Regions from separate parts of the Homo sapiens genome. Here region 2 is linked to region 1. Evidence: promoter capture Hi-C in human tissues and cell types (Jung and others, 2019). All regions are on one chromosome and are shown on one strand. The core of a region is centred on a gene start or on the middle of the fragment in contact, and the rest is flanking DNA. Distances in the headings are between cores, read along the strand shown.

Region 1 (6,394 bases), core at 2,245-4,744:
GAACCACTGAGGTGCTAAGAAGAAATGGGCACAGCATGGGAAATAGAAAATAACTGGTCAAGCAACTTGGAAAAAAGGGGTCAGAGCTGGAGAGTGTTGCACTCTCATCTGTGAGGCAGTGCAGCATCAGGATAAAAGCACAGGGTGTCACGGTGGGAATGGGTGACAGAATCAGATAGGAAGAGGTGATCACTGCAGACCAGGTGTTCAAGAAAGTGAGTGCCTCGTGCATAGGCTCCATGTGGATGCTGAGGTCACCTAAGGTGAAGTCATGAACTGAGGTAGAGGACACTCTGGGCCAGGCACCCCAGTCTTCCATGAATGAGGTGAATGATCAGGAGAGCTGAACAACAGCAATCAGGAGGGCTCCAGTTGGGCAGGAAGGCTCTCCATGGAATGAGACGCGGGAGACACACAGGAGGACACAAAGCTCAAATCCCTGATCCTGAGATACACAGGGCATGAGAAGGAGGAGGAGCCACGGGAGAGGGCTTCAAGAACAGGATATCCCTGAGGAAAGGTCAGGGTGAAGGCAAAGGGAGGGAGGGAATGGCTAAGGAGAGGCTAACAAAATAGAAGCTGATGTTGATTATCAGGTGGTAACTGCAGAGGACATAGTGAGGGGTTGGTGGGATGGTTGGGTCACAGGTAAACAAAAGAGGGGAGAACAGACTCAGTGGCATAGCATGATGGACATCATAAGGAGAGCAGAGAAGGGAAGGAGAGTGGGCTACCATGAAAAGTGCTCAATTGATACCTATTGAGTCAAATGGAGTTAGTGTAAACCTAATATATCCAACCAGAAAACTTCTGATACCACAAGTCCAGGATCACAATGATGATAATGATTTGATGACAATGAGGGGGGTGGTGATGACTGTTAACTACCAATTCTGAACACCTCCAGTATGCCAAGCACTGCTGCAAGCACTCCACATTTCACCTGCACAGCAATCCTCTGAGACAGATAACATCCTACTTATCCGCAGAAGGACTCTATACCAAAGGAAGAAGCAAACTAAACAGAAGTAAAAGATTTACAGGTACCCAGAAGGCTGACTGGCTTTTTATTTTATAGCCATAACTCACTCAGGGCAGCAGGAACCACCCTAACTCATAGCTACTGCACATTCAGCAACTTTAACTAAACAATATTCAGCCTGGAGGGAAGTCAAAACTAGCAATAATAATTTACTGAGGGCTTCACTTTGTGTCAGATCCTCTGCATCGATAATCTCATTTAATCCTGACACCCATAAAGGTTACCTTTATTATCACTGTTTTAAAAATGAAAAGACTAGGCTGGGTGGGGTGGCTCATGCCTGTAATCCCAGCACTTTGGGAGACCAAGGCGAGCGGATCACTTGAGTTCAGGAGTTCGAAACTAGCCTGGCCAACGTGGTGAAGCCCTGTCTCCACTAAAAATGCAAAAATTAGCTGGGCATGGTGGTGTGTGCCTGTGATCCCAGCTACTTGGAAGGTTGAGGCAGGAGAATCACTTGAACCCGGCAGGTGGAAGTTACCAGGAGCCAAGACAGCTGTGGCCAATAGCAACTGAAAGCCACAGAAGAAAAAGCTGAGTATAATCCACTCAAATTCACAAATTTCATAAGGGACTCTCTCTAAGACTTTAATACTTGTGTATTTATTAATTTAATCAATCACCACTTACATGGACTACATGCCAGACACTGCTCCAAGTGCTCTACTAATATTAAATATCATTTTTGTCCACACCCACCTATGATGCGTTATTATACTCCCCATTTTACAGATCAGGAAACTGAGCCACAGAAAAGTTTAGTAATTTCCCCGACTTTATACTGCCAGTAAGTGGCAACGCTCAGTTTGACAGAGTCTAGCTCCAGAATCCATGCTCTGAAAGTTTAGTCCCCAAGAACCTATAAAAAGTGCAAGGTTTAATCCAACACACTGGTTTTCCCCACTCTACAATCACTACGTGGCCTCAGCCTCCTTCTCCCACCTTTAAAGCATTTTTTGAGTTCCTCTAACAGTTCACACTCCTCTGAACACTCTCCTACAACTTTCCTATTTTTCAAGCCTTTTCTTCTCACTTTTTTTTTTTTTTTTTTTTGAGACATAGTCTCGCACTCTCATCCAGGTTGGAGTGCAATAGCGTGATCTTGGCTCACTGCAACCTCTGCCTCCCGGGTTCAAATGATTCTCCGGCCTCAGCCTCCCGAGTAGCTGGGATTACAGGCGCCCGCCACCACACCCAGCTAATATTTGTATTTTTAGTAGAGATGGGGTTTCACCATGTTGGCCAGGATGGTCTCGAACTCCTGACCTCGTGATCTGCCCACCTCGGCCTCCCAAAGTGCTGGGATTACAGGCGTGAACCACCGCGCCCAAACTCTTCTCACCTTAAACATCACTGACAAAATTACAAACTCTAATGGCACTGCCGTATTTGTCAGCACTCAACACAAAAAAATCATAATTATATATTTCATAGGTAATTATTTGCTTCCTGTCTCTCTTTTCCAACAAAGCTGTGAGTTCCAGTATGTCTGACACCATGTCTGTCTTGTTCTTGGTGTATTTCCACCATCGAATTCCTACTAACCACTGCAAAGTAAAGGCCTGGCACAAAGTAAGGTCTCAAAAAATTTTGTTGAATGAAAGAATAAATGGTGGACATTCAAGCCTCAAGCTTTCTCTTTCTCTGACACGTACCTCTGCTGGCTACGCCCCCATCCCCACCACCACACCCTTAACAGTGGAGACTTAGTGCGGTACTGGCTCTGCAAAGAGATATTACTTGGCTCTGGGTGGGTTATTTCCCCTCGTCATCCTGAGTTTCAGGTGCACAACAGGGATCACACCAACCCCCTAAAGAATGCAACCTACAAAAGAGAGAGAACCTACACCTCTCATCCTCGTAACCCATCGAGGCTGGAGCTACTATTTGCTTCATGTCTGTCTTTCCAGCAGCGTTTAGCTCCAAGAAGCCCAAGGCCTCGTCTGTCTGGCTCAGGGGCCTGCTCCCATCGACGATACCCAGGCTGGCCCCCTGCCTGGCTCACAGCAAAAGCTCAGAAACGATTCGTTAAATAAATGAAGCCCTGCTCCGTGCACTTCACAGGTGGGAAGCGAGGGTCGTGCGAGGCGGGGGCTGCATCCCTGCCAGCCTTGAGCGTATTCTTCAGATGCAGGCCCACCTCCCACCTAGGCCCGCGCCCCAGATGCCGGCCCCGAACCCCGCGCCCGACAGGCACCTCTTGCACAGGGAAGCATCTTCGCAGGTGCCGCGCACGCCCTCGTCGTCTGCGTCGCAGCTCGAGGTGGAACAGCAGGAGGTGATAGAGGATTCCCTCTGCCTAGTGGCCATGGGCGTGGAGGTTCCTGGGAGCTGTGTCCGCCAGGGACATGGAAGCGGGGTCGACGGGCGGCGGGGGACGGCGCGAGCCACAGGGAGAAAGCAACAGAAGAGGGTAGGGCCCTACCTGGCTCAGCTGGCGCGGCTCAGTGACGCCGCCCACGCCGGCTACCCCAGCAACCTCTCCGCTTATTGGCTCCTCTTCCGAGTCGCTCATTGAGCAATTCTCCTGCCCGCTCAGCCTACGAAGTTGCTCATTGGATAATTATTTTGGCACCGCCCACATAACCCGGAAATTTGACGATAGGAAAAAGAAACTAAACAGTAGGAGAGTATCGCAATCCTTTCTGGGAAGCGTAGTCTTAGGTGTCTGGAGAAGTCGCCCGGTTTCTGCTTGCTGGTCGCGAAATTTTATAGCTATAATTAACTCAGGGCGGAACAGCTAGCAGAATCCTCAGCGTTCGGGCAAAGGGCAGAGAATCCAGCCAGAAGCAACATGTGTAAGTTGTTACATTCAGTCCGGGCTCAGTGTCATTCAATTTTACAAAATTTTGTTGTGTGCTGACTCTGCCAGCGACTGTGCTGAGGGCTTTGCCCCCAAAATTGCCTTCGAAATGTAGTGAGGGGGGCGGGCGTAGTGGCTCACTCCTGTAATCCCACCACTGTGGGAAGCCGAGGCGGGCCGATCACCTGAGGTCAGGAGTTCGAGACCAGCCTGGCCAACATGGTGAAACACCGTTGTTACTAAAAGTACAAAAATTAGCCGGGCGTGGTGGCGGCCGCCTTAGTCCTGGCTACTCAGGAGGCTGAGGCAGGAGAATCGCTTGAACCCGGGAGGCGGAGGTTGCAGTAAGCCCATGTGGCGCCACTGCATTCCGTCCTGAGCGACAGAGCGAGACTCCGTCTCAAAAAAATAAATAAACAAATAAATAAAAGAAAGAAAGAAAAGAAATGTAGTGAGGGAAGTAGTGTGTGGAAAAGTAATACAATAGGAAGCCATGTAGCAGCGATCATAAATGAACTAGAGCTACCAGGTAGCAGCATCAATGGCTGAATCTCAGAAACACGATGTTCAGTGAAAGAAGGAAGTCTAACAACACTTTTGTAAAGTTCAAACCAAGTAAAACTAATGTTGTTTAGAGAAACGTACATATATGGTAAAATACTGTACAGAGAAGGCAAGACATGAGAAAAAAAAATAAAAAAGAATCAGGATATTGGTGATCTTTAGGGAGCCGGGAGGGTAGCACACAAGAGGGGGAGGGAGAGGCAGGGAAGGAGCACATAGACACATCCTCAGTTTCTCACGTGGGAGTGGGTTCACGTGTGTCTGTTTCATTATGAGGCATATTCAAGATGTTTTGGATTTATTTTGTACTAAATCTAGTACAAAATATATGTATAAATTCAAGATGTACTGGGGAAGTCGCCTGGTTTCTTGCTGGTGATGAAATTTTATAGCTATAATTAACTCAGGGCAGAACAACTAGCAGAATCCTCAGTGTTCGGGCGATTGGCAGAGAATCCAGCCAGAAGCAACCCTTGTAAGTTGTATATGTATAATAATGTTTAATATACATTATAAATTAAAAATGTCTTTGTATATTCCATTTTGTTATCTGTCAGTTGTTGGAAGCAGGAAACAGATATACTTTAAGAACTTTGAATTGCACTCATTTTTTTAAAAAGAAAATCAACAACAGAAACCCAGAATACACACCTTGGAGTGAGGTCAAATATCAAATGCTAGCTCAGTATTCTAATGGAGGCACAAGATCTCATTGATAGCCACAGTAGAAATGACAAGAGGGGAATGACTAAGGGTGGAGAGCTTTGCCAGGGGGAATGCTGATGGGATGAAATACACCATTTTCTTGGAGTGGTCCTTTGCCAAAAGGGTAATACAAACTATTGCACAAGCATCATCTCCCAGCTTAGCAGTGTCCACATTCCACGGGTGTTAGTGGATAGTAAGTGTTAACAGCAAGTACTATACGGTGTTAATCCCACAGGTCTGGACAGTGAGACTGGGGGTGACTGGAAGAAGGCGGAGGCAGATGGGTTTATACACTTTTGTTGTTGGATGAGCCTTTGATTCAAAATAGCTGGTGATTCAGAGGAATTTGGCCATCTTCCAGCTGACCTCCAGGGCCAGCTCATTCCATGTAAGTTCCTGGTTGAGGATCTGAAAGTTTATGACAGCGTGGAGTCTGGAGATTGCAAGCTTAGCCATCTCAGGCTAAATGATACCTTAATGCAAGAGACAATGCTGGGGTAGTCTTTGAGCCATATCCCAGCCAGAGAAAGTTCACTGCCAACTAGACTGCATCTTTTGACAAAGTCAGGAGAAGAGTTGTGGAAGTGTAAAAGCTCTTGGACATTAATATTGTGGGCCAAAAGTTAGGCATTCACCATGGAATCTCTCCCCAAAAGGCTACAATGGACAATTGTTGCTTTGGCTCTCCAGTATCTCTTTCTTCTATAAAAAATAGCTAGAGTGGGCTGGGCGCGGTGGCTCACACCTGTAATCCCAGCACTTTGGGAGTCCGAGGTGGGTGGATCACCTGAGGTCAAGAGTTTGAGATCAGCCTGGCCAACATGGTGAAACCTCGTCTCTACTAAAAATACAAAAATTAGCCAGGCATGGTGGCAGGCGCCTATAATCTCAGCTACTAGGGAGGTTGAGGCAGGAGAATCACTTGAACCCGGGAGGTGGAGGTTGCAGTGAGCTGAGATCGTGCCATTGAACTCCAGCTTAGGGGACAAGAGCAAAACTCCGTCTCAAAAAACAAACAAAAAGCTGGCATGGTGGCTCATGCCTGTAATCCCAGTACTTTGGGAGGCCGGGGCAAGTGGATCACCTGAGGTCAGAAGTTCGAGACCAGCCTGACCAACATGGTGAAACCCCATCTCTACTAAAAATAAAAATTAGCCAGGCATGATGGCGCATGCCTGTAATCCCAGCTACTCCGGAGGCTGAGGCAGGAGAATTGCCTGAACCCTGAAGGCAGGGGTTGTGGTGAGCCGAGATTGCGCTATTGTACTCCAGCCTGG
Region 2 (6,394 bases), core at 963-3,462, 1.1 Mb after region 1:
ATTTTAAATGTTCATCCCGACAGTTTCTGTTGAAAAGCTGTGGAGAAACAGAGACACATATTCCTGGTGGGTGGGCCAATTGGTGTCATCCTGTGGGGGCAATTTGGCACTACCTATCCAAAGTACAAATGCTTTTGTAAAATTACAAATTCTTTTCACCTTTCACTCCATCACGTTGGACGAAGGTAAAATAACCTGCATACATAGGAAGTAATATACAGATACAGTTATTCACTGAAGCCCTGTTTAGGGTAGCATAAGATTTAAACACGCTAAGTGTCACTGGGAAAGGGTTGTTTAAATAAATCATAGTGTAGCCACATAATGGAAGACTACTCAGGTATAAAGTACAATGAGGAAGTTCTCTGCATTAATATGGAAAAAAATCTCATTTTTTTTTCTTTTTTTTTTTTAGGCAAGGCCTCACTTTGTCACCCAGGCTGGAGTGCAGCAGTGCAATCTCGGCTCACTGCAGCCTCAACCTCCCAGGTTCAAACAATCCTCCTGCCTCAGCCCCCGAAGTGTCTGGGACTACTGGTGCACGCTACCATGCCTAGCTACTTTTTATATTTTTTGCAGAGACAGGGTTTCGCCATATTAGTCAGGCTGGTCGCCTGAGCTCAAGCTCAAGTGGTCCGCCTGCTTCGGCCTCCCAGAATGCTAGGATTACAGGCGTGAGCCACTGCACCCGACCAAGGTTGTATTTTTTAAGTGAAACAAACAAAAAAATCAAGGTGCTGAGGTGTGTATATTACATGGTACCTTTTGTGTGTGTGAGAAAGCGAGGTGCAATAAGTTAAGTGTGTATCCTTTCTTTTTAAAATTATTTTCAGAGACAAGGTCTCACTATGTTGCCCAGGCTGGAGCACAGTGGCGAGATCATAGTTCACTGGAGCCTCAAACTTCTGGGCTCAAGTGATCCTCCTGCCTGAGCCTCCTGAGTAACCGGGGAAAGTCGACTCTTAATTACACCTCTGGCAGGATACACCAAAAAAAAAAAAAGAAAAAAAAAACCTAATACAAGTGTTCATCTATGGAGGCAAGAGAGAATAAAGTAGACAGAGAGTAAAACTTCTCAGCACAGACTTTTCTATACTTTTGATGTAAAGTAGAATATTTTAGGGTTTATCTGGGTATTACAAAAATCTCACCTCTTGTACTACCACCGTGAGTAACACATCAGTACTGCCATGCCCACAACTGCAAACAAAAGGCCAAAAATTTGCAAAAGACAAAAAAAGTAGGGAAACCTTAATTGAGACTGAGTGGACGGAGATTGTCTGAGCATGAAAAGTGGAGAATGTTAGAAGCTGTAATTACACACGCATGGCACATTTGAAAAGGGGACACTATAATTTGGTGACGATCTTTCATTTTGTTCCTGGAGAGGAGAATGAATAGAGCCAATAACACCATGTAAACACTTGTGTGTTGGGTGACGATTTGCTTCAACCGCCTGATATACCCTGCCCTCTTCTAACCCCGCCCATTTGGCGAATACGTAATTATTCCATTTGAAGGATAAGCTTCTATTGTATAAACTTTGGCAGAATTTAAAATACCATTTCCTGGGTTAAGATCTGCACTGCAGTCCATGTCAATATAGGGGTGAATTAGTAGCCACATCTAAGCTTAACTCTTGGCTCTTCCAGTTATTAACTTTCTGACTCTAGGGAAAGTTATTTAACCCTTTTAAGTTTTCGTTTCCTTGTGTGGAAACTGGAATAATAATAATGCTTAATTCCTAGGTTAGTAAGAGTTCAGTGAGATACTGCATGGAAACTGCATAAAGTTGCTGGTGAAGATGAACATTTAAGAAATGTTCTGCCAGGTCCGGTGGCTCACGCCTGTATTCCCAGCACTTTGGGAGGCCATGGTGGGAGGACTGCTTGAGCCCAGGAGTTTGAGACCAGCCTGGACAACATAGTAATATCTTGTCTCTATCTCTACAAAACATTTAAAAATTAGCCAGTTATGGGCCGGGCGCAGTGGCTCACACCTGTAATCCCAGCACTTTGGGAGGCCGAGGTGGGCGGATCACGAGGTCAGGAGATCGAGACCATCCTGGCCAACATGGTGAAACCCCGTCTCTACTAAAAAATACAAAAAATTAGCTGGGCGTGGTGGCGGGCACCTGTAGTCCCAGCTACTCGGGAGGCTGAGGCAGGAGTATGGCATGAACCCAGGAGGTGGAGCTTGCAGTGAGCTGAGATTGCACCGCTGCACTCCAGCCTGGGCCACAGAGCGAGACTCTGTCTAAAAAAAAAAAAAAAAAAAAAAAAATTAGTTATGGTGGCGCATGCCTATAGTCCCAGCTACTTGTGGGGATGAAGTGGGAGGATCACTTGAGGCCGGGAGTTCAAGGCTACAGCGAACCAGGATCACACCACTGCACTCTAGCCTGGGTGACAGAGCAAGATCCTGCTTCCAAAACAAACAAACAAAAAAAGAAGAAATGTTCACTGTTATCATTAATTTTGCCTGTTTTAAAATTCAAGTTTGTTTCTTTCAAATTATTTGTAACAAATTTTCCTGTGTATTATTTAAGGATATTAACCCTTCACCTATGATATATGCAGTAAATGTTTTCCCAGTTTCTCATTTGCCTTTTAATTTTGTCGATGTTCTTTTTTCAACGTATAACGCATGTGCGTGTCTGTGTGTGTGTGTGTGTGTGCCTGCGTGTTTAATAAAGTGCAAATTTTTCCCTTTTCCTGTATGGTTTCTGTCTCTGCTGTCGTATTTAGAAAGTCCTTCCTGATATTTTCTGGTAGTCTTTTATGGTTTCACTTTTTTACATTGAAATCATCATTTCCCTTGGCATTCATTTTAGCATGAGCTCTCAAGAAAGACCTTTATTTCTACTCTTAATGTTTAGACAGCAAATGTATGAAATGCATCTTTTCCCTGCTGATTTGAAATGCCTCTTTTATGATACACGAATTTCTTATGTATTCTCGGCTCATTTTTTAATATTGTCTTATGCTCCACTGATCTGTCTCTCTCTCCCCACCGTTGCACCATACCATAGTATAAGCTCTTGGTATCTAGAGGCACACACCTTTATACCCACTGGCCCCTCCCCTAGCATTCCTGCTTACTTTCAAATTTTTCTTGGTTATTCTTATCCATGTATTCTCCCAGATTGTGCTGGAAATGCCAATCATTGGCTGCTTAACTTATTGACCCTTCTAGAAAAATTCCAACCTACAGCACCAGCTCAGTGGACAGTAAAGCATCTGACCTCATACTTCCAGCCAATGCTGAATAGACCAAGGTTGGGTCAGTGATATGAAATTTATGAAGGAAGAACTGGGCCAATCAGAATTTAGAATAAGGAATTGTGCAGAGCTGGGTGCTGTGGCTGAGCTAAGGGGTGAGGTGGGATGTGATATAGAACCACGGCTGCCAGGAGAAAAACAGATTGGGGGAGCTAGGGGTGGAATTCACATGTAATTTGAGCCTTCTTGTGTTTTTCCAGAAAAGATTTTTTCCCCCATAAACTCTCTTAGTTGGGGCCTAAGTATTTATTCCTAGGTATTTTACCTCTTTATTGCTATTTTAACTGGGATTTTTTCAAATTTATTTTAACTGGTTGTTGCTAAAATACAGAAAAGTTATTGTCATTTATATCTTTATTTTATAACCAGACATTCTTGGCAAAGGGTATTTGATTATTTTCTTGGGTCTTCTTGGTAGACAACATTTGCCATCCATGTTAAGCGAGTCTTTTCTGCTTGGAGATTTATACCTGTTGTTTCAACGAGTGATCTTAGTTCATTAGCCAGGCCAGCAGCTCTTAGCCCGGGTATGCCAGCCTCTGTAGCATACCTGAAAATGTCTTCCAGAGATGTATTTCTAGCTTTCACCATGACCACCCAGGCCGCTGGGTGAAACTCACAGCCGTGGTGAGCCACGATTTTGATGGGGAATACTGTATTCTCAAAACGTTGGTTAAAAGCTGGGAAGAAATGGTGACCTTGGGCCAGCTCTCTTGATGTTATCCCTAGTTAACCTTAACTGTCTAGGAACAACAACCCTAGGGGGAGCTAGGATAATAACCCTAGCGGTAGTTATCCCTAGGGGATAACAATATTTGTTTTGTGAGGTTCTAGGGAATGAATTACCCACAACCTTTAAAACAGCTGCCTGACACAGAGCAGGCACTCAATAAGTACAAGCTATTATTATTAACTATTAATTATTAATTATCACTGCTCAGGGCATCCCTGTGCCTACTGAGTTGTGACTTTTCCCAATAAACCTTATATATATTTCCACTTCTTGGACTTCAGTCTTGATTTCCTGTGCCAATTCCTTCTACTACAGCTATAAGCCATTCACTTATTTAACCATTTAGTCACCAAATATTCGTTGAGTACCTTCCCTATGTCAGTCTAGTTGGGGAAAACAATAAAGAAGCATAAACCAATGTACACTTCCAACAGCTGCAAAGGAGACACTCAGTGCTTAGAGAATTTACAAGGAGAGTGTCGGCTGGATAGAGTCAGGAGGGCTTCCCTGAGAAAATGAAGTTTAAGCTGAAATCTTAAGGAATTAGAGGGTGTAACCAGGCGATGGCCACCTAGCTGGGGCTCTGCCCCATGGGAAGGGAGTAACTGCTCCACTGCATGAGGTTCAGAGTCAACCCAGGTAGACCTGGCTGACACCACCCCACCTCCACCTGCTGGCTTCAGGCTCTGCCTCAACCCCCGTGACCTGTTCCCAGCTTGGACCCCTCAGCCAAAAGACCCTAGCCCCACTGAGAGGGAGTTTAGCATGAGATCAGGGGTCAGATTCTATAGCTGGAATGTGCAAATTCAACACCAGCTCTGGTAATTTCCAGTCGTGCAGCCTCGAGCAAGCTACTTGAGTTATATAAGCCTTGATTTTCTCACCTGTAAAATGGAGAGAAGAGCTGTCACATGGAGAGAAATGACAGTGCTGGAGCAGACACTTCAAGGCCAGACTGTCTGAGATTGACTCCCAACTCAATGACCTCCCAGCTGTGTGACTTTGGACAGGTTACCCAACCTCTCTGAGCTTCAGGGTCCTCATCTTTAAAATGGAAATAAGGCCAGGCGCGGCAGTTCACACCTGTAATCCCAGCATTTTGGGAGGCCAAGGCGGGCGGATCACTTGAGGCCAGGAGTTCGAGACCAGCCTGGCCAACATGGTAAAACCCCATCTCTTCTAAAAATACAAAAATTAGCTAGCTGGGCATGGTGGCGGGTGCCTGTAGTCCCAGCTACTTGGGAGGAAGTTGAGGCAGGAGAATTGCTCGAACCCAGGAGGTGGAGGTTGCAGTGAGCCGAGATCATGCCATTGCACTCCAGCCTGGGTGACAAGAGCAAGACTCTGTCTTAAATAAATAAATAAAAGGAAATAATAATCACACTAAATCCTCATAGGATTATGAGAATTTAATGGATTAATATTTGTAAAAGACTCAGCACAGTGCCTGGCACATCATATATACACTATGCAAGTGTTTGCTGAATATAATGAGCCTGCTTTCTAGATGTGTACAGATTAATGAAATCACAATGATGATGCTTAGCTTGGCACAGTGACTGGCATGTAGTATCCATATGACAAATGTTAGCTTAGAATAAAAATGACATCTGTGATCTTGGGCAAGTCACTGCCATGGTCTGGTCTCAGTTCCTCCTTCTGAAAACAAAGGGGTTAGGCTTGGTATTCCCCAGGGGGCCTTCGAGTTCTGGTGGAGGCTGTTCACAGAGTGAGCCCCACCTCTTCCTGTGCAGGCCGGGTTGTGCATTCATTGCTCAGGGTGTACAGTAGTTTCAGGGAATAGTCACATGGCAACGGATCACACCCACATTATAAATAAATCCTCCATCACCCACAAAACCACACCCATCTCCTCCCCTCCCCACCCCTCTCCCCCTGCAGTGCCGTAAGCCAACTAAGGGAAGTGGTCTGAGCACCCCTTTTTGCTAAGTGGGGGGTCCCGTAAATGCAAGATCACAACATAAGATTATTCAACTTGCAAAGCCGCTGCCAGCTTGGTTTCCAGGTGCAGCCCTGGATGCCCAGCTTCCTGACAGCACCCTCTGTCACAGAAGCTCTCAGCACACCCAAGTCTGCATTTCAGAAGAGCAGAAAGATCCTCTGTATAGAAGGACACGGTGAGTTTGTGAATTACAGAGGAGCCTCCCATTCCTGCAAAGGATGCTGCTGGAGCAAATGCCTGCCAGGTGGCCATCTGCACCGGGGACTCTGCACACAGCAAGTCCAGGCAGGCTCTGATCCTCATGACCGCTAGAAACAATGACCCTGAACCAGCAGGCCCGCATAGACAAGGGCCCTAACTGAGGAAGGTGAATTCTGTGCAGGCCAACTCTGATGTCTATACTTTTTTTTTTTTTTT

The links. Contacts are between HindIII fragments. The study calls those that stand out against the background at their distance.
Region 2: a fragment that was not itself captured here is called in contact with the fragment with the promoter of LCMT1 in region 1 in 1 of the 25 tissues and cell types used here (H1 embryonic stem cells).

Annotation. Positions count from the first base shown.
Region 1 is chr16:25,108,842-25,115,235 of GRCh38, reverse strand. LCMT1 (leucine carboxyl methyltransferase 1) reads right to left here and starts at 3,494. Exons shown (of 11, transcript NM_016309.3): 1 at 3,240-3,494. The coding sequence starts at 3,352. It overlaps LCMT1-AS1 (LCMT1 antisense RNA 1), which reads left to right and starts at 3,681. Exons shown (of 3, transcript NR_120306.1): 1 at 3,681-3,840. RefSeq lists enhancers at 3,187-3,346, 3,437-3,766, 3,544-4,071. The HindIII fragment of the contact is 11,844 bases long and covers 1-6,012 here.
Region 2 is chr16:24,013,782-24,020,175 of GRCh38, reverse strand. The region is part of intron 3 of PRKCB (protein kinase C beta); the gene reads right to left. Among named protein-coding and RNA genes, the nearest start is that of PRKCB, 180 kb to the right of the region's middle. RefSeq lists enhancers at 5,426-5,495, 5,606-5,725. The HindIII fragment of the contact is 4,710 bases long and covers 1-4,567 here.